Linked DNA regions of Homo sapiens: regions 1, 2, 3, 4, 5 and 6 are each linked to region 7. The links are contacts of gene promoters, found by promoter capture Hi-C in blood cells and fetal thymus (Javierre and others, 2016). All regions are on one chromosome and are shown on one strand. The core of a region is centred on a gene start or on the middle of the fragment in contact, and the rest is flanking DNA. Distances in the headings are between cores, read along the strand shown.

Region 1 (2,700 bases), core at 13-2,512, 390 kb after region 7:
TGCAACTACTGGCTTCCACTCCCCTAACTTCCCCATCACTCCATGATATGGTTTGGCTCTGTGTCCCCACTGAAATCTCATCTCCAATTGTAATCCCCATGTGTGGAGGGAGGGACCTGTAATCCCCATATGTTGAGGGAAGGAAGTGATTGGATTATGGGGGCGGTTTCCCCCATGCTGTTCTTGTGATAGTGAGTGAATTCTCACGAGATGTGATGGTTTTGTAAATGGTGGTTTATTCCTGTGCTCTCACTTCTGTCTCACCTGCTGCCCTGTAAGATGTGCCCCCTTCCCCTTCTGCCATGATTATAAGTTTCCTGAGGCCTCCTCAGCCATGCAGAACTTTGAGTCAATTAAACCCCTCGCTCCCTCCCTCCCTCCGTTCCTTCCTTCCTTCCTTCCTTCTTTCCTTCCTTCCTTGTTGCGGGAAGTCAGGGACCCCGGACGGAGGGACAGGCTGAAGCTATGGCAGAAGAACATAAATTGTGAAGATTTCATGGACATTTATTAGTTCCCCAAATTGATACTTTTATAATTTCCTATGCCTGTCTTTAATCTCTTAATCCTGTCATCTTCGTAAGCTGAGGATGTATGTCGCCTCAGGATCCTGTGATGATTGTGTTATCTGTACAAATTGTTTGTAAAATATGTGTGTTTGAACAACATGAAATCTGGGCATCCTAAAAGAAGAGGATAACAGTGATTTTCAGGGAACAAGGAGATAACCATAAGGCCTGACTGCCTGCAGGGCCGGGCAGAACAGAGTCATATTTCTCTTCTTGCAAAAGCGAATAGGAGAAATATTGCTGAATTCTTTTTCTCAGCAAGGAACAGCCCTGGGAAAAGAATGCATTCCCAGGGGGAGGTCTCTAAAAGGCCGCTCTGGGAGTGTCTGTCTTATGCAGTTGTACATAAGGGATGAAATATGCCCTGGTCTCCTGTGGCGCCCCCAGGCTTGCTAGGATTGGGAAATTCCAGCCTGGCGAAGTTCTAGTCAGACCGGTTGTCTGCTCTTGAACCCTGTTTCCTGTTAAGATGTTTATCAGTGACAATGTGTGCCCAGCAGGACATGGACCTTCATCAGTAATTCTAGTTTTGCCCTGGCCTTGTGATCTCACTCTGACTCTGCCCTTGTGATATTTTATTGCCTTTGAAGCATGTGATCTCTGTGACCCACACCCTATTCGTACACTCCCTCCCCTTTGAAAATTGCTAATAAAAACGTGCTGGTTTTGCAGCTCAGGTGGGCATCACGGAAGCTGCCAATATGTTATGTCTCTCCTGGTGGCCCAGCTGTAAAATTTCTCTCTTGTACTCTTTCTCTTTATTTCTCAGACCGGCCGACACTTAGCGAAAATAGAAAAGAACCTATGTTGAAATATTGGGGGCTGGTTCCTCCGATACTTTCTTCCTTTCTCTCTCTTTCTTTCTTTCTTTCTTTCTTTCTTTCTTTCTTTCTTTCTCTCTTTCTTTCTCTCTCTTTCCCTCCCCCCTTCCTCCCTCCCTCCCTCCCTTCCTTCCTTCTCTCCTTCTTTTTTTTTTTTTTTTTTTTTTTTTTTTTTGAGACAGAATCTCCCTCTGTCACCCAGGCTGGAGTGCAGTGGCAGGATCTTGGCTCACAGCAACCTCTGCTTCCTAGGTTCAAATAGTTCTCCTGCCTCAGCCTCCCAAGTAGCTGGATTACAGGCGTGTGCCACCACGCCCAACTAATTTTTTTTTTTTTTTTGTATTTTTAGTAGAGATGGTGTTTCACCATGTTGGCTAGGCTGGTCTCGAACTCCTGGCCACAAGTGATCCACCTGCCTTGGCCTCCTAAAGTTCTGGGATTACAAATGTGAGCTGCTGTGCCCTAAACCTCCTTTCTTTATATATTACCCAGTCTCAGGCATTTCTTTGTAGAGTGTGAGAATGGACTAATGCACTCCAGCTCCAGCTTATCACTTCAGGCCGAGGGGTGGTAACAGTTCCAAAGTGCTCAGCATCCCTGTAGCATCTCTTAACCGTATTCACACATCTGTAGATAGTTTATTTATTAAGTTATCTCCAAACCTCAGCTCAGTCTCCTGTTTCCTGCTGAGACCCATACTCTGGGAATGAACTAAGGCAGGTTAGTATACTCTTTCCTAGTGGTATAAAAAGTGGATACTCTTATTAAAAAAGAGGGCTCTTAACAGATGGAAAAAAATATAGATTTTTTTTTCCTTTGGAAGTCTTTAAAAATAAGAGAAATGTCTTTTTTTTGGGAATGGTTTCTGTCTGTTTAATAGATACGGTTAGAATATTAATGACAGTCATATCTATGTGTGACCAATCAGTTGTTGAGCACAGTTCTACTCAGCCATTTCAGTGCTTTTGTGCAGGTTTTTCTTTAAAATTTAAATACAATGTATCTTTTGCTGTTTATTTTTTTAATAAAAAAATCTCTTTTTTAAATAAAAAATATTCGGCCGGGCACGATGGCTCATGCCTGTAATCCCAGCACTTTGGGAGGCTGAGGAGGGCGGATCATGAGGTCAGGAGATCGAGACCATCCTGGCTAACGTGGTGAAACCCTGTCTCTGCTAAAAATACAAAAAATTAGCCGGGCATGGTGGCAGGCACGTGTAGTCCCAGCTACTCAGGAGGCTGAGGCAGGAGAATGGCGTGAACCCAGGAGGCGGAGCTTGTAGTGAGCTGAGATTGTGCCACTGTACTCCAGCC
Region 2 (2,891 bases), core at 323-2,822, 340 kb after region 7:
ATGCATGTAGTAAATATTAACTGATCATATATAATTAAGCAGATAATACCAGTCCACTTATTAGCACCTCAGAAAAAAATAAACCACTATACAAATTTGAACTGTCATTATTTTAAGAAAAACTTGAGTAAACATGCAAAAACAAGAAAGCTGGTAGCAATCAACATGGCTAGGACCTGCACAGTAATTTTACTTTTTTGCCTTCAGTTCATAACCTTGTTAGGTCTTTGCTTTGTGGAGGATGCTATTTCTCATGCATTAACTCTTAAGTGCTTACACATAACTAAAGTTTTATTAAAAGAATAATGAAATAGTATACTTACATCAATTTTCCTTCTACACATATAGCAGTATTATTATTGATGCTTTTAATCATCCATTCCTGTAGCTGAACTACCTAATCAAGTATAAAACAAAGAACATATTTCCTGTATTACTTGCAGCACAAGCATTACAAAATTAACTTACATTAAAAGAAAAAACTTGTCTAAGTAATCCAAATATTCCTTAGTGTCATCGATGTAAGATTCACATTCTATTCTAAATAGCAATAGGTAAAATTCTTGTATACAATGAAACAGAAAAGAAAAGACTGAATTCAGGTTGTATTGCATTTGTTCTACAATCAAGAAGCAATTATACTTCAAATACTCTATCACCAAATCTCAACTGGTGGGGACAAAAATCATGTAAAATCCCAAGGTACAGATTAAAACACCAAGTCCTGCAAAAAGCCCAGTAACTTGGAGTGAAAAGGAGTTAGCTATGTTTTGTCCTTAAAAAATTAAGAGTTTTTTTTTTTTTTTGTAAAGTTTAGACCTGTATTCCAATTTTCTACAAACTAAAAAGGTAACTGCTGGTAATCTAGATTTAACAGTATTTTATTCCAAAGTAAACATCTGAATAGCTCAGAGAACTCTTTATTATCTTACTACAAGTAAAATATCATTCTAATGGAAAACATTTTATGACAATCTATGCAAAGAAATTCTTGAATATAAATTTCATAAAATTTAAGATTGAACTACTTCTGATGAGAAAAAAAGTCAAAATTTATGGAATAATTTGAGTGGCAATTTACTTTATATGTAAAGTTACACATTTACAAATAAAAACAAATTCTCCAGTGGTAGTTTTATACTGAGTCAGGAAAAGACATTAAAATGGGACAGTCTTTGTTATGGCACATGTTGATTATGTTCATTTAAAAAATTATAGGTGATGGCTGAGGACAGTTGCTTAAACCTGTAATCCCAGAACTTTGGGAGGCCAAGTCGGGAGAACTGTTTGAGCCTAGGAGTTCAAGACCAGCCTGGGCAACATAGTAAGATTCCAAAAAAAAGTTTAAAAATTAGCTGGGTGTGGTGGTACACACCTGTAGTCCCAGCTACTGGAGAGGCAGAGGTGGGAGGATCACTTGAGCTTGGGAGGTCGAGGCTTCAGTGAGCCTCAACAGGTGATGGAACAAGACTCTGTCTCAAAAAGTAAATACATAAAAATAAAAAATTATAAGTAGGATAGTTTATAAGCCATGGGTCTCAGTAGTAATGGCGAGGGGATCCACCATCTTGTCTTACCCTCACCCAAGACACAAATATGGCTTCTGTTTTTAAGCCCCTTTTAAATGTTTCTTTCTGAAAAAAGTAAAAAATTATAGGTAGGACTTGGGGAAGTAACAGTAAATAATACTCTCTTTTTGCCTTCTCCCACATTTGGAACTACCTGAGATATATCAACGCACCAGTCAGATGGAGATAATAATCCTGTACCATACTATTATACTGCTTATATAAGATATCAAAATGTTCATTCATTATTCATTCAACAAATATTTGTTGAGTTCTACACACTGTTTTAGATAGTGGAGATTGAGTGAGAAAGTAAACAGCTGCCCCTCTTAGGGCCAACATTCTTGTGTGTGTGTTAGGGTTGGGGGTGGAGGCAAGCAGGATAATGGCATCTAAACCAATATGAAAATGTCAGGTGGTGGTAATTACTATGAAAAATAAATAAAAGGCATTAGATAAATGAGGTGCTTTTTAAGACAAAACAGTCAGGGAACGTCTTGGAAGAGAGAACTGAATAAAGTGAGCAATGAGTCACATGGATATCAGCAAAAAGATTCTTCTAAGCACAGAGAGTCAGCGCAGAGATCCAGGTAGGCAGCATGGAAGGCATAATTTGAAAGGAGTAAGTGAGAGGGAATAAGTGGTGAGGTTGGAGATCTCCAGGATTAACTAAGTACAGCTCGGTAAACCATGGTAAAGGCTTAGTGTTTTCTATTGAGATGACAAGTTACTGGGGATTCTGAACAGAACGACAAAATTTGATATTTTAAGGGACTGTTGGGTAGAGATGAGACTATATGAAGATTTTAGCTTGTCTGGAAAACAGACTGAAAAAGGAGAAAAGCAATACTGGAAGCAGGGAGACCACTAGGCTATGACAGTCATCCCTGGACTAGGAGGTAGTGGTTGAACAGTGAGAAGAGGCCGCATTCAGGAGAGTAGAGCCAATGGGATTTCTTCATGGTTTGGATGTGGAGCATGAGAGAGAAACAAGAGTCCAAGATGAATCTAAAATTTTGCCTAAATACTGGGGCCAATGGTATTACAATGTACTAATACAGGACAATGGAGAAGGTATGGTAAAGAAATCAAGAATAAGAATCTCACATTTTCTCACATTTTCAATTTGAGATGCCTATCTGATATCAATAGAAAAGTCATATAGACAACTGCACATGAGTGTGGAGTTGAGAAGAATTTTCTGTGCTGGAAACATATTGGAGAGCTATCAGCATAGAGATGGAATTTAAAACTATGACACTGGAAATACAGCCTAGAGAGTGCGTGTAGGTAGAAAAACAATTTCTAGGGCTGATCTGCAGT
Region 3 (2,762 bases), core at 225-2,724, 360 kb after region 7:
TTTAAGAAAAGATCAGAATTGCATGTTTCCATACCTCCCACAGAAGAATAATTAAAAGAGTGTAGCAGCAGGATTTTATTTTCAGGGGCTTTCCATTTTTTTTTTTTTTTGCAACCCACAGAAATATTGTACATTGTAACTTAATAAATACACAAAACTCAATTAAACAAAAAGCTTTAAAAGCATTACTTAACATTACTCTGCAGTGTGTGCTGTTATTTTCTGTTTCCTCTTTAAGAAAACTTCCTATGGTGTATGATTGTAATACAAAATGAACATTTTCATGTTTCAGCATGGTCAGGGCTTTTAATTAAAAAATTAAGGTAAAATTCACTTAAAATAACCATTTTAAAGTGTACAATTCAATGACATTTAATGCATTCACAATGTTCTGCAACCACCACCTGTAAAACATTTTTTATCATCCTAAAAGGAAATCTCATACCCCTTAAGCAGTCACTCTCTCTTCTCCCCTCCCCACAGTCCTAGGCAACCACCAATCTTCTTCCTGTCTCTATGAATTTACCTATTTGGATATTTCATATAAATGGAATCATACAATATTACAATATGGACCTTTTATGTATAGCTTCCTTCACAGTTTTTTTCTGAGGTTTATATATCAAACATTGTATGTTGTAGATTAGTACTATATTCCTTTTTGTGGCTAAACAGTATTCCATATTTTGTGTGTGTGTGTGTGTGTGTGTGTGTGTGTGTGTATACCACATTTTATTTATCTGTTCCTCCATTGACATTTGGGTTGTTTCCACCTAAATCTATACTACCTTAGTTTGGATTGATACCAACTTAGTTTCAACAGCATACAAAAACTCTGCCCCTAAACAGCTGAGTCCTCTCCTGTATGTTTCTATTATTACCGATTGCATCTATATACATTGTGTGTTCATTAACATAGATTTGTAATTATTTTATGCATTTGTCTTTTAAATCATATAAAAAAAGGGAACTACACACCAAAAACATAGCGATCCTGGCTTTTGTATTTACTGATGTAGTTATATTTATCTAACTTCCTGATTTCTTCTTAGAGCTTTTAGTTACCATCTAGTTTTCTTTCATTTAAGCCTGAAGAACTCCCTTTAGTATTTCTTATAGTATAGGTCTACTTGTGACAAACTCCTTCAGCTTTTATTTACGTGCTAATGTCTTAATTTCTCCATTGTTTTTGAAGGACACTTTGCTGAATATAGAATTCTTGGTAGATAGTCTTTTTCTTTCAGCACTTTGACTATGTTATCCCACTGCCTTCTTGCCTACATAGTTTCTGATGAGAAATCAGATGTTCTTATTATTGAGAATCACTTGTATGTGACAAATCTTTCCTCTCCCTACTTTTAAGATTTTTTTTTGTCTTTGTCTTTTGACAATTTGATTATAATGTGTCTCAGTGTGGAACTGTTTATATTTATCCTTCTTGGAGTTTGTTGAGATTCTTGGGTGCATAGGTTCCTGTCTTTTACCAAATCTGGGCAGCTTTTGGTTATTTCTTCAACATCTTTTTCCACTGTTTTATTTTTCTTCTCCTCTGGGACTCCTGTAATGTGTATGGTGGTACTCTTGATTATTCCCATAGATTTTTAAAGACTCCAATAATTATTCTTCATTTTTTTTCTTTTTTCTTTTTTGTTTTTTGAGACAGAGTCTGGTTCTGTCACCCAGGCTGACAGGCAGAATTATGACTCACTGCCTTATGAACTCCTGGGCTCAAGAGGCCTTTCCACCTCAGCCTCCCGAGTAGCTCAAACTACAGACACATACCACTATACCCAGCTAACTTTTTTTTTTTTAATTTTTGTAAAGACAGAGTCTTACTATGTTGCCCCAGCTGGTCTTGAACTCCTGGGCTCAAGTGATTCTACTGTCTCAGCCTCCCACAATGCTGAGATTACACGTGTGAGCCACCGCGCCTGGTCTTTCTTTTTTCTTTATACTCCTCAGTCTGGATAATTTTGATTGTAGTCAACAGTTGTAAGTTCACTCATTCTTTATTCTGCCTGCTCAAATCTGCTATTGCAACCCTCTAGTAAATTTTCATTTCAGTTATTGTATTTTTCAGCTTCACAGTTTCTACTTGGTTTCTTTTCATAATTTCTATCTTTGTTGATATTTTCTATTGTTAACACATCATTCTTCTGGTTTCCTTTAACTCTTTGTGGTTTCCTTTACCTCTCTGAGCATATTTAAGACAGTTGATTTTAAATTTTTGTCTAATATGTTCAGTGTTTGTGCTTCTTTAGGGAGAGCTTATATTAATTTCTTCTGTAAATAAACCATACTTTCTAGTTTCTTTGCATGCTTCATAATGTTTTTGCTGGAGACTGGACATTTGAATATTAAAATATGCTAACTCTGGACATCAGATTCTTCTCTCTTCTTAGGATTTGTTGTTGTTGTTATTGCTTCCTGTGAAATATAGTTGTTTGCTTGTTTAGTGACTTTTCTATATGATCTTTGTAAAGTCTGTATTCTTTGTCCTGTGTGGTCTCTGATGTCTCTATTCCTTTAGCTTGTGTTCAGGGGTGCTTTGATAGATATTTTCCTGATCACCAGGAGCTATCCTAGAATAGAATAAAGTAATAAAAGAAAAGAAAGAAACAACAACAACAACAACAACAACAAAAAACCCTCTTCCAACCTTTGAAGATTGGCTGTGTGTTAGAGCATGCTTTCAGTACTTAGCGAGGCCATTTATAACTCTGCCTAAGCCTTCACTCCCTGCTTGTGCTGAGCCCAAAGAT
Region 4 (2,850 bases), core at 5-2,504, 300 kb after region 7:
TACCTTAATTGGCGCTGGAATCCGAATTCTTTTCAGTTCCTGCCAAGAAGAAACCGCAGATTTGCTAAAGGAACTGTCTTTAGTGGAACAAAGAAAGAATGTTGGTATTCATGTTCCAACAGTGGTGAATAGTAATAAAAGTGAGGCACTCCAGTTTTATTTAAGTATTCCCAATATAAGTTATATAACTGCATTAAATATGTGTCACCAGTTTTCATCTGTGAAAAGGATGGCTAACAGGTATGTCTGTTGTAATATTTTTAAATGATTACTTTTAAAAGATTCGTAAAAGCATTCCATAGAAGTTTAATGTTAAAAAAATTTAAGCGGCATCATGCCTGTTAGATTATTTTATTCAGTAAACATTTTTTGCCTGCCAACATATATTAGTTACTGTATGAAGCTAAGGGACATTATTCGAAAAAAAGAAAAAAGAAAAAATAGGTGTAGGGATTTCCTTTGAGAAGCTTAGAGCTCTGTGGAGAGACAATAAATAGCAGTTTCCTTTGACCTTGCAATCTAACATTTCTGGGCTGTTCAGTTCTGTAACAAGAAAAATGAGTATTTTACTAGTTGTGATCATTATATTGCTTGAAGAGGGAGATTTTAGAATGTAGTTCATTTTAATTAAAGGCCTACATCAGATACTGTCTTAGCTCATGCTGCAATGATAAAATACACAAACAACACAAATTTATTTCTGCCAGTTCTGGATACTGGAAGTCTGAGATCATGGCTGGGTTCTGGAGAGAGCTTTCTACTGAGTCACAGACTACTGCCTTCTCATTGTATCCTCACATGGCAGAAATAGAGCTAGCTAGCTCTTTGACCTCTTCTTAAAAGTGCACAAGGATATCCACCTTTATCAACTAATTCTCAAAGTTGCCACTTCCAAATACCATCACATTGGGATTACGGCTTCAACATATGAATTTTGGGCAACACAAAAACATTCAGTTCATTGAAGATGTTGAAATTGTTATTCTAGATAATTTTAAGGAAAGGAAACAAGTAGCTCTTTTATCCAAACTAATGTTCAAGACATATCAGCTGGGCGGATAATGCTTGAGATGATTTCCTTAAAGGCTACTGTGTTTGGTGTTCTTTAGGTAATATTAAATTTTATAAAAGCCAAAAGTCCTAGTGTAATGATTTTGTCTCATTTATTTTTCAGCTCACTTCAAGAAATCTCCATGTATGCACAAGTAACTCATCAGAAGGCTGAGGAGATCTATAGATATATTCACTATGTATTTGACATACAAATGTTACCAAATGATCTTAACCAAGATAGACTGAAATCTGATATATAATCAAGCTGCTCAAGATGGGGTTTTCAAAGACCTCTCACAATATTAAATGCACTTCAATAATCATTGCTGTTTTATGTTTATTTGTAAATAAGAGAATATTTTATTTAAATATTTTATATTGTATACATTTTTATTTATAGATTATAGAAATTATTAAAAAAGAAAAATCTGATGTTCAGTGATCATTTTGACTAGATTATAAAACTAATTTTTCTTATTAAATAAAACAAGGTTTATTAAAAGTGTTACTAAGGATAGTTTAAGAAAGTAAAAGCTAAGCTAGAGATATACTTTGGAATGTTTCCCAAAATTAAAGTTGTACTGTTGTGATAAATAGTAAAGTTGACATGTCTATGACTACAGCCAACTTGTCGATTTTCCCTATGTGTAGATAGTATACTTTTAAGTGTACTGATTCTAAATACATGTACTTGGTAAGGTGTGGGTGATGGGTGGGTTGTGAGATAAATGACCCAGTAACTAGGAAAGTAGAAAACTTAACTGAATGTTTATCTGACCAAAGGTGTGTCCCAGTTAAGTACTGTCAAATCTATTAATATGAACTCTGATATGGTTTGGCTGTGTCCCCAACCAAAATCTCATCTTGACTTGTAATCTGAATTATAATCCCAATATATTGGGGAGGGACCTCCTGGAACGTGATTAGCTCATGGGGGCGGTTCCCCCATGCTGTTCTAGTGATAGTTCTCAGAGGATCTGATGGTTTTATAAGCTTTTCCTCTGTTCACTCTGCAGTTCTCTTGCCTACTGCCATGTGGAAAAGGAAACGTTTGCTTCCCCTCCACCATGATTGTAAGTTCCCGAGGCCTCCCCAGCCATGCAGGACTGTGAGTCAATTAAACATCTTTTCCTTATAAATTACCCAGTCGGGTTATTTCTTCATAGCAGCGTGAGAATGGACTAATACAAACTCCCAGCTACATTACTCTTTTTTGTTGCTGAAATATATTCAAAATGGTATATTGGTTTGGACTTAGAAAGTTTCTTTTTAATATAAATTACTGAATGCAGGCCCATTATGTTGACCCTATTATATTTACCGTTTTGATCCATTCTGTTGTCTGTGATGGCATTAAGAAGGCTCTGCTTGGGGCCGGGCGCGGTGGCTCACGCCTGTAATCCCAGCACTTGGGGAGGCCGAGGGGGGCGGATCACGAAGTCAGGAGATCAAGAACATCCTGGCTAACACGGTGAAACCCCATCCCGTCTCTACTAAAAATATAAAAAAATTAGCCGGGCATGGTGGCAGACACCTGTAGTCCCAGCTACTCAGGAGGCTGAGGCAGGAGCATGGCGTGAACCCGGGAGGCGGAGCTTCCAGTGAGCTGAGATCGTGCCACTGCACTCCAGCCTGGGCGATAGAGCCAGACTCTATCTCAAAAACAAACAAAAACAAACACAAACCAAAAAAGAAGGCTTTTCTTGTATCTGCAATATATATGACATCTTTCTTCTAGTCAGTCTAGTACTAAAGCAGCCTTGAATTATGTGAGTCCTTTATTCTCGGCCTCATTTT
Region 5 (2,879 bases), core at 159-2,658, 400 kb after region 7:
TAAAAGGAATGCAGGATTCAATAAAACATCTATTATTAATGTGTTTTAGTTATTTAAATGGGAGTACAGGATTCTGGCTGTGGAGGATCAGAGCTAGAAGATACTTTAAAAGTGTACTATAATAATGTTTTTCAAACTTTAATATGCATATGAATCAACCAGGGTTGTATTTAAAATGCAGAGTTGGCATGGGGCCTGGGTTCTGCATTTTCAACAAGCTTCTAAGTGAGGTCAATGAGACTGATCTACAAACCACACTTTGATAGCAAGGTACAATGACACAAGTAAAAATACCCCAAAATATCGTATTTCTACAATTATATAATAAATACAACTTAAAAATTCTCTGTTTGACTGTATCTTACACTTGGGCCATGAATCCATCAGGAAGCTCAGCAAATGCCACTGCTATAGTGTGACATTTAAATTAAAAATAGATCATTCAGTGGGCTGTGCATGGAGGCTCATGCCTGTAATCCCAACATTTTGGGAGGTTGAGACTGAAGGACGGCTTGAGGCCAGGAGTTTGAAACCAGCCTGGGCCATATAACAAGACCCTGTTTCTACAAAAAACAAACAAACAAACAAAAAAATTAGCTGAACATAGTGGCACACACCTATAATCCTAGCTACTTGGGAGACTGAGGCGGGAGGATCCCTTGAGCCCGGGAGTTTGAGGTTGCTGTGAGCTATGATTGTGCCACTGCATCCCAGCCTGGGTGACACCTAAACTCTGTCTCTGTTTGTTTTATATGAGTTATGCTGAAGTTACTTCTACGGAGTGATATTTTTTATCCCATGATGTCCTGAGGTGGTATCACTCTCTGGTGGCAGTTGCCCTTGCTGTGGTCAATCCCCATCACAGATTAGGCTATGTAGTCACTTACTTTCCAAAGGTAAAGAAAAAAACAGTGTTTTTTTACTGAACTATAGTTACCTTGGCATACTTACACAAAAACACTCAGTGTATTATAAAAATAAGGCCTGGCCAGGTGCAGTGGCTCATACCTGTAATCCCAGCACTTTGGGAGGCTAAGGCAGGAGGATCACTTGAGGTCAAGAGTTCAAGATCAGCTTGGACAACAGAGTGAGGCCCTGTCTCTACAAAAATTAAAAAAAAAAAATTAGTTGGGCATAGCATGTGCCTGTTGTCCTACTACAGGACTATCTACTCTGAAGGCTGAGATGGGAGGAGTGTTTGAACCCAGGAGCTCAAAGTTGCAGTGAGCTATGATCATGCCAACGTACTCCAGCCTGGATGACAGAGTGAGACCCTGTCTCTTAAATAAATAAATAAATAAATAATAAGGCCTGGTGTTATGTGATTTCATTAAATTAAAATTCATGTGGAGGAAAAGAAACACTTGAATGGTATAATATTCTAAGTTCAGATTTAGTTTATATTGAATTCTTATAGCATTCTGGGTTAAATATAAAACTTTTAAAAGAAAATAGCAGGAAAAGTAGAATTAATTATATTGGCAAACATTTTATTATTCAAATGAGTAGTTACCACTTTGCTTAAAAATAGCTTTAGAGTGGTGTTTGGAACCCATTTTTTCACATGCTTGTAATTCAGCATAATTTTAGCAGACTTTTTCATCTCTGATAAAAAAGGGCTTCTTTTGGCTGGAAAGGTACCACCCCTGTTTTCCATTTTACTCATGCATTCCATACACAGCCTGTGTGTAATAGTAATAAAGTTGTGTGGTAGACGCTTAACCTGGCTCGTGAATGTGGTATTCCTCCTTTGCCATTTGTGCTTTTTCTCTGAAACTGAAAAAGGCGCCAGAAAAGTACAGAGAGAGTGCACAGTTTCTCCTGAAAGTGTTATGGCTGCCCCGTCTCTGTTGACATCTATTAAGATTCAGGCAACAGGAGATCCTCACTTTAAGGTACAAGGGAGTGTTATTTTGGCTTTACATGAGGTGGTGGTGGTTGTTTTTGTCTCTGAACATCTTCAACTCTCTCAGGATTGTGCTGTGTACTAAAAATAAAACAACTATAGCTTGTGATTCACTTTGTTTTCACTGAGTCAGGGCTGTAGATTCCAGGAAAGATTCAATGACATAGGAGAGTTGTAAAAATGGAAATAAAATTGCTGAATCTGAAATGAAGATGATCATAGTAACTTGTGCATGCTAAAAATCAAGCCTAATATCTGGAAGCTCTGACTTCTTCTAGATTTTACATGAGGAAATCATTTTAATATTGTATTGTTACAGTGCTCATGATTACCTGGAACCCTTTGGGACTGTTTACATGGAGCTGTTCACCACGGATATTTGCATGAGAAATGATATATATTAGAATTTATTTTTAAAAGAAATCAGCAGGTCATATCTCTCCAAATCAATTTCACTCAAGGCAATACTTTTAATAAATTTTCAGCACAATTCAATCACCATTGTGGAAAGAAGGAATTAAAAACCTAGGTAAGGATGTGATTAGCCAGTATAGGCTTATACTGGCTATATAGACAGAACAGACAGACACCTACAATAGAAGAACTCTCCTGGCAGAACACTTTCTCTCACAACTCAAAAATTTCATCTTTAGAAATTAATTTCTATTGGCCTTGCAGGCTTTTGATCTTTTAAAGCTTTCACACTAAAATATAAACATGCTTTCAAGGCATAGTACATTAAAAATGCAGGAACTGGATTTGTACCTAGTTTGAAGGCAGTGTTCAAATAGTGCCTAAGGTATATCTCTAGTAATGTGTCTTTGAAAAGTTGGGTTCAACATTTTAAAATTATTTTGTTAAAATGACATACTCATTAAATTGGCAAATGATGAAGCTGGGAGACATAGCTAATATGTCAGATGATAGCATTAAAATCTAAGTGATCCTGATTAGCTGGAACAGGAATAGAAGG
Region 6 (2,912 bases), core at 249-2,748, 320 kb after region 7:
CACGTGTGATAGCACACAATTACATAGTATTTCCACCATACCACAGAGGTGAAGAGTCTCAAGAGCATATATATATAATAAAATGGAAAATAATTAGGAAGTAATGAGTTTTAAGCATTATCTTTGTTTTAAATAATTTAAGTTTATATAATTTTTTAATGACTTTAACACTCAATTTGTAAAATTCTCCAAAATTTAACAATCAGCTCTTGTGAACAGCTACCAGCTGACCACAGCATATTATTCCATGCAGAAAAGCATAATACTTATGAGCATTAAATACTTGTTAATGAATTCTTTTACATAATTAATCATTCCACAGTGTTCTAAAGTGAACAACTAGAAGGACTTGGGAACTCAAGCTTCTCTATTTGTGTGTGTGGCTAATTTCTAAATCTACGACTGTCTAAAATAACTATTACATAACACAAATAATAATGTATTTAATAAGAAATTAGTACTTAACACATCTCCTCTAGGTTATTCCAGATAATTTAAAAAGACAAACTTAAACATATCACACCATGTTTAAAACTTGTTTCATTATTAGCATAAAACCCCAAATCCTTAGTGTAACGCTGTATTGTTCCTTGCCCAACTCTCTAGTCTCATCTTGTACTGCTCTTTGGTCAACTTTCAGTATTCCATTCATTCTAGCTTTCTTTATTTACCTTTCTTTTTTTTTTAAAGAGACAGGGTCTCAATCTGTCACCCATGCAGGAGTGCCGGGCATTATCATAGCTCAATGTGGCCTCCAACTTCTGGGCTCAGGCGATCCCCCTGACTCCGCCTCCTTAGTGGTTGGCACTACAGGCACATACCCCACACCCATTCTTTCAGTATTTCCAAATATGCCCTCTTTCTTTATACTTTTGTGTATGCTATTCTAAGGTCCATTTGTCTTGAATCCTTGGCTTAAATAATTCTTATTTATTGATATAGTTTAAATATGTGTCCCTACCCAAGACTCATATCAAAATGTAATTCCCAGTATTGGAAGTGGGGCCTAGGGGGAGGTGATTGGTTAACGGAGGTAGATTCCTCATGAATGATTTAGCAACATCCCTCTTGGTACCATCCTTCTGATGGAGTTCTCATGAAATCTGGTCATTTAAAAGTGTGTAGCACACTTTTCCAGAATGTCATATAAATGGAATCATATAGTGTATAACCCTTTGAGTTGGCTTTTTTCACTCAATATGCCTTTGAAATTCAACCAGGTTGTTGTATGTATCAATAGTTCTTCCTTTTTACTGCTTAGTAATCCACTGAAAGAATGCACCCTAATTTGTTTATGTAGAAAGTACGACAGAAATCAGGGAGAGGGAGGAGCTTGGCATAGCAACCCTTTAAAGTTGTTTATGAACTCCTAGGCCCATGCTGCAAATTTTGATATATTTTCATTTTTGTTCAGTTAAGAATATCTGGCCGGGCTGGTGGCTCACACCTGTAATCCTAGCATTTTGGGAGGCCAAGGCAGGTGAATCACTTGAGGTCAGGAGTTCGAGACCAGCCTGGCCAACATGGTGAAACCTTAACTCCACTAAAAATACAAAAACTAGCTGGATATGGTGGCACACACCTGTAATCCCAGCTACTTGGGAGGCTGAGGCAGGAGAATTGCTTAAACCCAGGAGGCGGAGGTTGCAGTGAGCTGAGATCGTACCACTGCACTCTAGCCTGGGTGACAGAGTGAGACTCTGTCTCCAAAAAGAAAAAAAATAAAAGAAGCCGGGCGCGGTGGCTCAAGCCTGTAATCCCAGCACTTTGGGAGGCCAAGGCGGGAGGATCACGAGGTCAGGAGATCGAGACCATCCTGGCTAACACGGTGAAACCCCGTCTCTACTGAAAATACAAAAAATTAGCCGGCGTGGTCGCGGGCGCCTGTAGTCCCAGCTACTCGGGAGGCTGAGGCAGGAGAATGGTGTGAACCTGGGAGGTGGAGCTTGCAGTGAGCAGAGATCGCGCCACTTCACTCCAGCCTGGGCGACAGAGCAAGACTCCGTCTCAAAAATAAATAAATAAAATAAAATAAAATAAAAGAATATTTTCTACTTTCCTTTAAGTCTTCTTCTTTGACCCACAGATTAGTTATACGTATTAATAAGTTATTTAATTTTCAACCACTTGGAAATTTTCCTATCTTTATTTTATTGATTTGTAGTTTAATTCAATTATCATCAGAGAATATGCTTTGTATGATTTCAGCTATTTTAAATCTGTTAAGAGGTTTTATGATCTATCTTGATGAATGATCAACCTATCCTTGGAAATAACCTATTCTTTTTCTTATTATTGGGTGGAATGTTCTGTAAATGTGAATCATACGAATGACTGATGGTGTTGTTCAGTTCTATATCCCTGCTAATTTTCAGTCAGTTCTATCAAATACCAAGAGAGGAGCAGTGTGGTTTCCTATAACTGTGGATTTGACTATCCTTGTAGTTTAGTCCGCTGCTTTCACTTGTCAGTTTTTAACTCATGTATTTTGAGGTTTTATTGTCAGGTGCATACACACTTAGGAATTTCATGCCTTCCTGGTGACTGACCCTTCTATCATTTGTAATGTCTTTCTTTATTCCTGGTTATTTTCTTCCTACTAAAGTCTATTTTGACAGATATTAATATAGCCACTCAAGCTTTCTTTTGATTTGTGTTTAGACGGTATTTTTCTATCCTTTTAACCTACCTATATCATTATATTTAAAGTGAGTTTGTTGTATACAGCATATAGTTAGATCATGTTTTTAAATTCATTCTGACAATATGTCTTTTAATTGGTATGTTTAGACCATTTAATTTAATTATGTTGGATTTAGGTCAATAATTTTATTATTTGTTTTCTGCTTGTTCCATGTAAAAAAATCCTCCACTTCTCTTCTTCTTTGCCTTCTTTTGGGCTATTTGATTTT
Region 7 (2,734 bases), core at 54-2,553:
AGGAAGAGAATGACCTAATCAGTATAAAATGAACTCCATGTCTTGTGAGAGATTTATAATTAAACACATAATCCACATTTACAAACATTTTTAAAGGGCTTTTCTACCTGTAGGAGAGGATTAATATTGAGAGTGAACTTTTTGCAAGTTTTCCAACACACTAGTTTATCTCTAAGAGCCTCAGTTTCCTCATCTATAAAATACCATAAGAAATAAGAAAAAACAGGAAACTAAAAAGAGCAGGCTTTGCCAGAGCTATTAATTATTCTTTTTTGGGCAGAGCCAAAACTCAAGAAATGGAAGTCTCTCTTCCATTTCTAGACTTTTTTAGAGAGATCCATGAGGAAGTTCCCCTCCATAGCTTTGGCCGACCATCACACCGGTCAAGAAGGCATCCAGCCTCTCCCAGGCTCAGCCTGTGACGGAAAACCACACTGATTTACTAGGATAGCCTTGAGCTCTCTCATTAGCCCTCACGTGTTCTGAACGTTAGAGCTAACTTTCCAGACCCTCATTATTTGTTGAAAGGCTGGATGGGGAAAATCTCAACCAGATCTCCATGCCTACTTGCAAGGAGAGGTAGTTTTTGCAGGGTGGCCTGTGTTCTCCAGATGCAGAGCCATACAGGGCCTTGCTTCTTTACGGGAGATACAAAAACTCGGCCCTAATAAACAGAAATAGTGGTTGAGCCCACAAACTAGCATTAAGTTGTCCTAACTGTAATTTCCAGCTCCGTCACTTGCTGTGTGGGACCTTATTATCTCCAAAACCCAATTTTTTCAACTTCACAATGGAATTAAAACAATCTAATTTTTCAAAATGGGGTTAACTTCCACTGTAAGTTACAGTATATTGGCCAATAATTAACTTGAACACTAAAGCTGGCATTTAACAGATCAATTCAACTGTTTTCTAAGTAAATACTTAAACGCTTAAAAAACCGTAATTTACTGAGAAAACAAAGCTTTCTTTCTAGGTTAAGAATTTGAGAAAACAAGACCCAGAAGCAAACTAAAATCAAGTCCTAAAATGGTACAAACCTCAAAAAGCCAATCAGGTTTGCCAATAAAGCTCCGCCTCCGTGCAAACTCTGCCCACTTCCGGCTTCCCCACCCACCTTCTACCAGTGGAACCCCGCCCCTCTCTGCGAGGTCCCGCCCCCCACACCTGATCCTGGTTCCCATTGGGCGAATCTGGATGCTGTATACACAGCCGACACACGCACATTAGGCTGGGGCGTCTTCGCGCCTGCGCAGCTGCGCTGTCAGGCGGCTGAAAACGGGGGGGTTGGGGGGAGGGGGGCGGAGGTCGTGCCGAATCTTCCTCCGTAATAAGAAGCGACGTGTCCCACTGTCCTGGCTCCGTGGGTCCAGTGAGATTGGGCCTGGGCGCTGGAGCTGCTGTGGCTCCCGCCGCGGCGGCTGCCATGGAGGCCATGCCAGAGCCCAGAACTCACGCCGGGGGAGGCCGAGACAGCCGGCGGTACTCATAGATGAGGCAGCGGCGGCGGCGGCGGCGGCGGCAGCCCGGGCTCTCCATGAGCAGGCGGCGGCGGCGACGGGTGCGGCGGCACCGGCAGTTTTCGGTCCCCAGGGAGGTACGAGGAGTTTGCTTCCTGGTGGACGGAGACTGGCCGGTGTGGGAACGCCTTCCGCGGCCCGGCCCTCCAGCCTATTTGTCCGCAGTTCTGAGCACTCGGCGGGGCACTGCCCGGGCAGAGGCGGGGGCGCCCAGCCGACTCGCGGGCCCCTAACTCGGGGACCCGCCCGCCTCGGTGCCAGGCCTCCCGGGCGCGGCTGCCCAGGGCCAGGGTGGGCGTGGCCGGAACGTGGGGGCTCCCCGGGGGCGCACGCCTAGCGTCCGCCTTGTCCCTGTCCCGAAGTCCCGCGCTGCTGGGAGCGGTAGCGCGTGGCTGTACAGGCGTATTTTAGGCGCTGATTTGAGAGGGGACTTTTAGAATCCCTGAGTCCTTAGGGAGTCTGGCGTTCAATGCCTTGGGCATGTGGTGGGGTCCTCACGGCTAGCTTGGGGTACCAATTTCCTCCCTTGGAAGTCACCACGAAAGAAAGATGTTTTGTCAAAGAAATAGAGGTCAGGAGAGTTTTCCAGGTTTATTCAAATTGGAGGGCCCGTAGAGCCTGGAGAATAAAGCCAGCGGAATACATCCTCCAGTCCTTCTAATTACAGTTCCTAGCTAAACAGCTAAGACAATTTTAAGTAAAGCTCTTCACAGCTATCTTTCCATCATTTTTCCCCACCCCTCATTTTTATTGCAATTTACTTTGGAACAAATCACCAAATTCATGATGAAACTAGTATCCTCTAGTTCTTCCAAACCTTCCCTCCTCCCGTTTTTTCCAGAGAAAGACTAAAGTTTCATGCCACATATGTCATTATAGTTTAATTCTCTTAGAGTGTAAGGGTAGTTACACTTCATTTGGTCATGTCTGAAGATAATGTGAAGAAAATATCCTAGAGATTTATGCTTCCTTCCCAATGCACTATTTTAGGAATCCGAACTCAGGCTCTTTAAGCAATCTTAAACCTTGCTACAAAGTTCTTTAAAATTCAACGGAAATAAATCAAACCATAAAGTTATTTTCGTTTTTAAAGTATTTGAATGCATAACTGTTTTTTAAAATCTTTGTAAACAAAACGAATCAGTATCTATTACGAAGAAACTGAGTTTGTGTTTTCCTAGGCTGCAGATTTGCCACACCCTCTTCTTCCTAAG

Evidence for each region. The method cuts DNA at HindIII sites, captures the fragments that hold promoters and counts their contacts. A CHiCAGO score of 5 or more calls a contact.
Region 1: a contact is called between a fragment that was not itself captured here and the fragment with the promoter of DORIP1 in region 7, in 16 of 17 cell types (non-activated CD4 T cells, naive CD8 T cells, total CD4 T cells and 13 more). The highest score is 12.6, in non-activated CD4 T cells.
Region 2: a contact is called between a fragment that was not itself captured here and the fragment with the promoter of DORIP1 in region 7, in 12 of 17 cell types (non-activated CD4 T cells, activated CD4 T cells, total CD4 T cells and 9 more). The highest score is 14.1, in non-activated CD4 T cells.
Region 3: a contact is called between a fragment that was not itself captured here and the fragment with the promoter of DORIP1 in region 7, in 17 of 17 cell types (activated CD4 T cells, non-activated CD4 T cells, total CD8 T cells and 14 more). The highest score is 36.4, in activated CD4 T cells.
Region 4: a contact is called between a fragment that was not itself captured here and the fragment with the promoter of DORIP1 in region 7, in 13 of 17 cell types (fetal thymus, total CD8 T cells, activated CD4 T cells and 10 more). The highest score is 11.9, in fetal thymus.
Region 5: a contact is called between a fragment that was not itself captured here and the fragment with the promoter of DORIP1 in region 7, in 1 of 17 cell types (neutrophils). The highest score is 8.6, in neutrophils.
Region 6: a fragment that was not itself captured here is called in contact with the fragment with the promoter of DORIP1 in region 7 in 17 of 17 cell types (activated CD4 T cells, total B cells, total CD8 T cells and 14 more); the score reaches 17.4 in activated CD4 T cells.

The regions. Positions count from the first base shown.
Region 1 is chr14:45,281,040-45,283,739 of GRCh38, forward strand. No RefSeq gene overlaps it. Among named protein-coding and RNA genes, the nearest start is that of MIS18BP1, 29 kb to the left of the region's middle. RefSeq lists a silencer at 854-1,054. The HindIII fragment of the contact is 7,998 bases long and covers 1-2,700 here.
Region 2 is chr14:45,237,325-45,240,215 of GRCh38, forward strand. It overlaps MIS18BP1 (MIS18 binding protein 1), which reads right to left. Exons shown (of 17, transcript NM_018353.5): 5 at 324-397. Among named protein-coding and RNA genes, the nearest start is that of MIS18BP1, 14 kb to the right of the region's middle. The HindIII fragment of the contact is 5,284 bases long and covers 1-2,891 here.
Region 3 is chr14:45,257,011-45,259,772 of GRCh38, forward strand. The region is part of intron 1 of LOC107984674 (a long non-coding RNA gene); the gene reads left to right. Among named protein-coding and RNA genes, the nearest start is that of MIS18BP1, 5.2 kb to the left of the region's middle. The HindIII fragment of the contact is 2,604 bases long and covers 173-2,762 here.
Region 4 is chr14:45,198,696-45,201,545 of GRCh38, forward strand. FANCM (FA complementation group M) reads left to right here. Exons shown (of 23, transcript NM_020937.4): 22 at 1-240; 23 at 1,175-2,195. The coding sequence ends at 1,313. Among named protein-coding and RNA genes, the nearest start is that of MIS18BP1, 53 kb to the right of the region's middle. RefSeq lists an enhancer at 1-231. The HindIII fragment of the contact is 1,579 bases long and covers 466-2,044 here.
Region 5 is chr14:45,296,921-45,299,799 of GRCh38, forward strand. No RefSeq gene overlaps it. Among named protein-coding and RNA genes, the nearest start is that of MIS18BP1, 45 kb to the left of the region's middle. The HindIII fragment of the contact is 2,384 bases long and covers 217-2,600 here.
Region 6 is chr14:45,219,428-45,222,339 of GRCh38, forward strand. All of the region lies in intron 11 of MIS18BP1 (MIS18 binding protein 1), which reads right to left. Among named protein-coding and RNA genes, the nearest start is that of MIS18BP1, 32 kb to the right of the region's middle. The HindIII fragment of the contact is 2,277 bases long and covers 361-2,637 here.
Region 7 is chr14:44,895,972-44,898,705 of GRCh38, forward strand. DORIP1 (dopamine receptor interacting protein 1) reads left to right here and starts at 1,304. Exons shown (of 5, transcript NM_001017923.2): 1 at 1,304-1,597. RefSeq lists enhancers at 949-998, 1,623-2,122 and silencers at 1,489-1,618, 1,639-1,958. The HindIII fragment of the contact is 3,873 bases long and covers 963-2,734 here.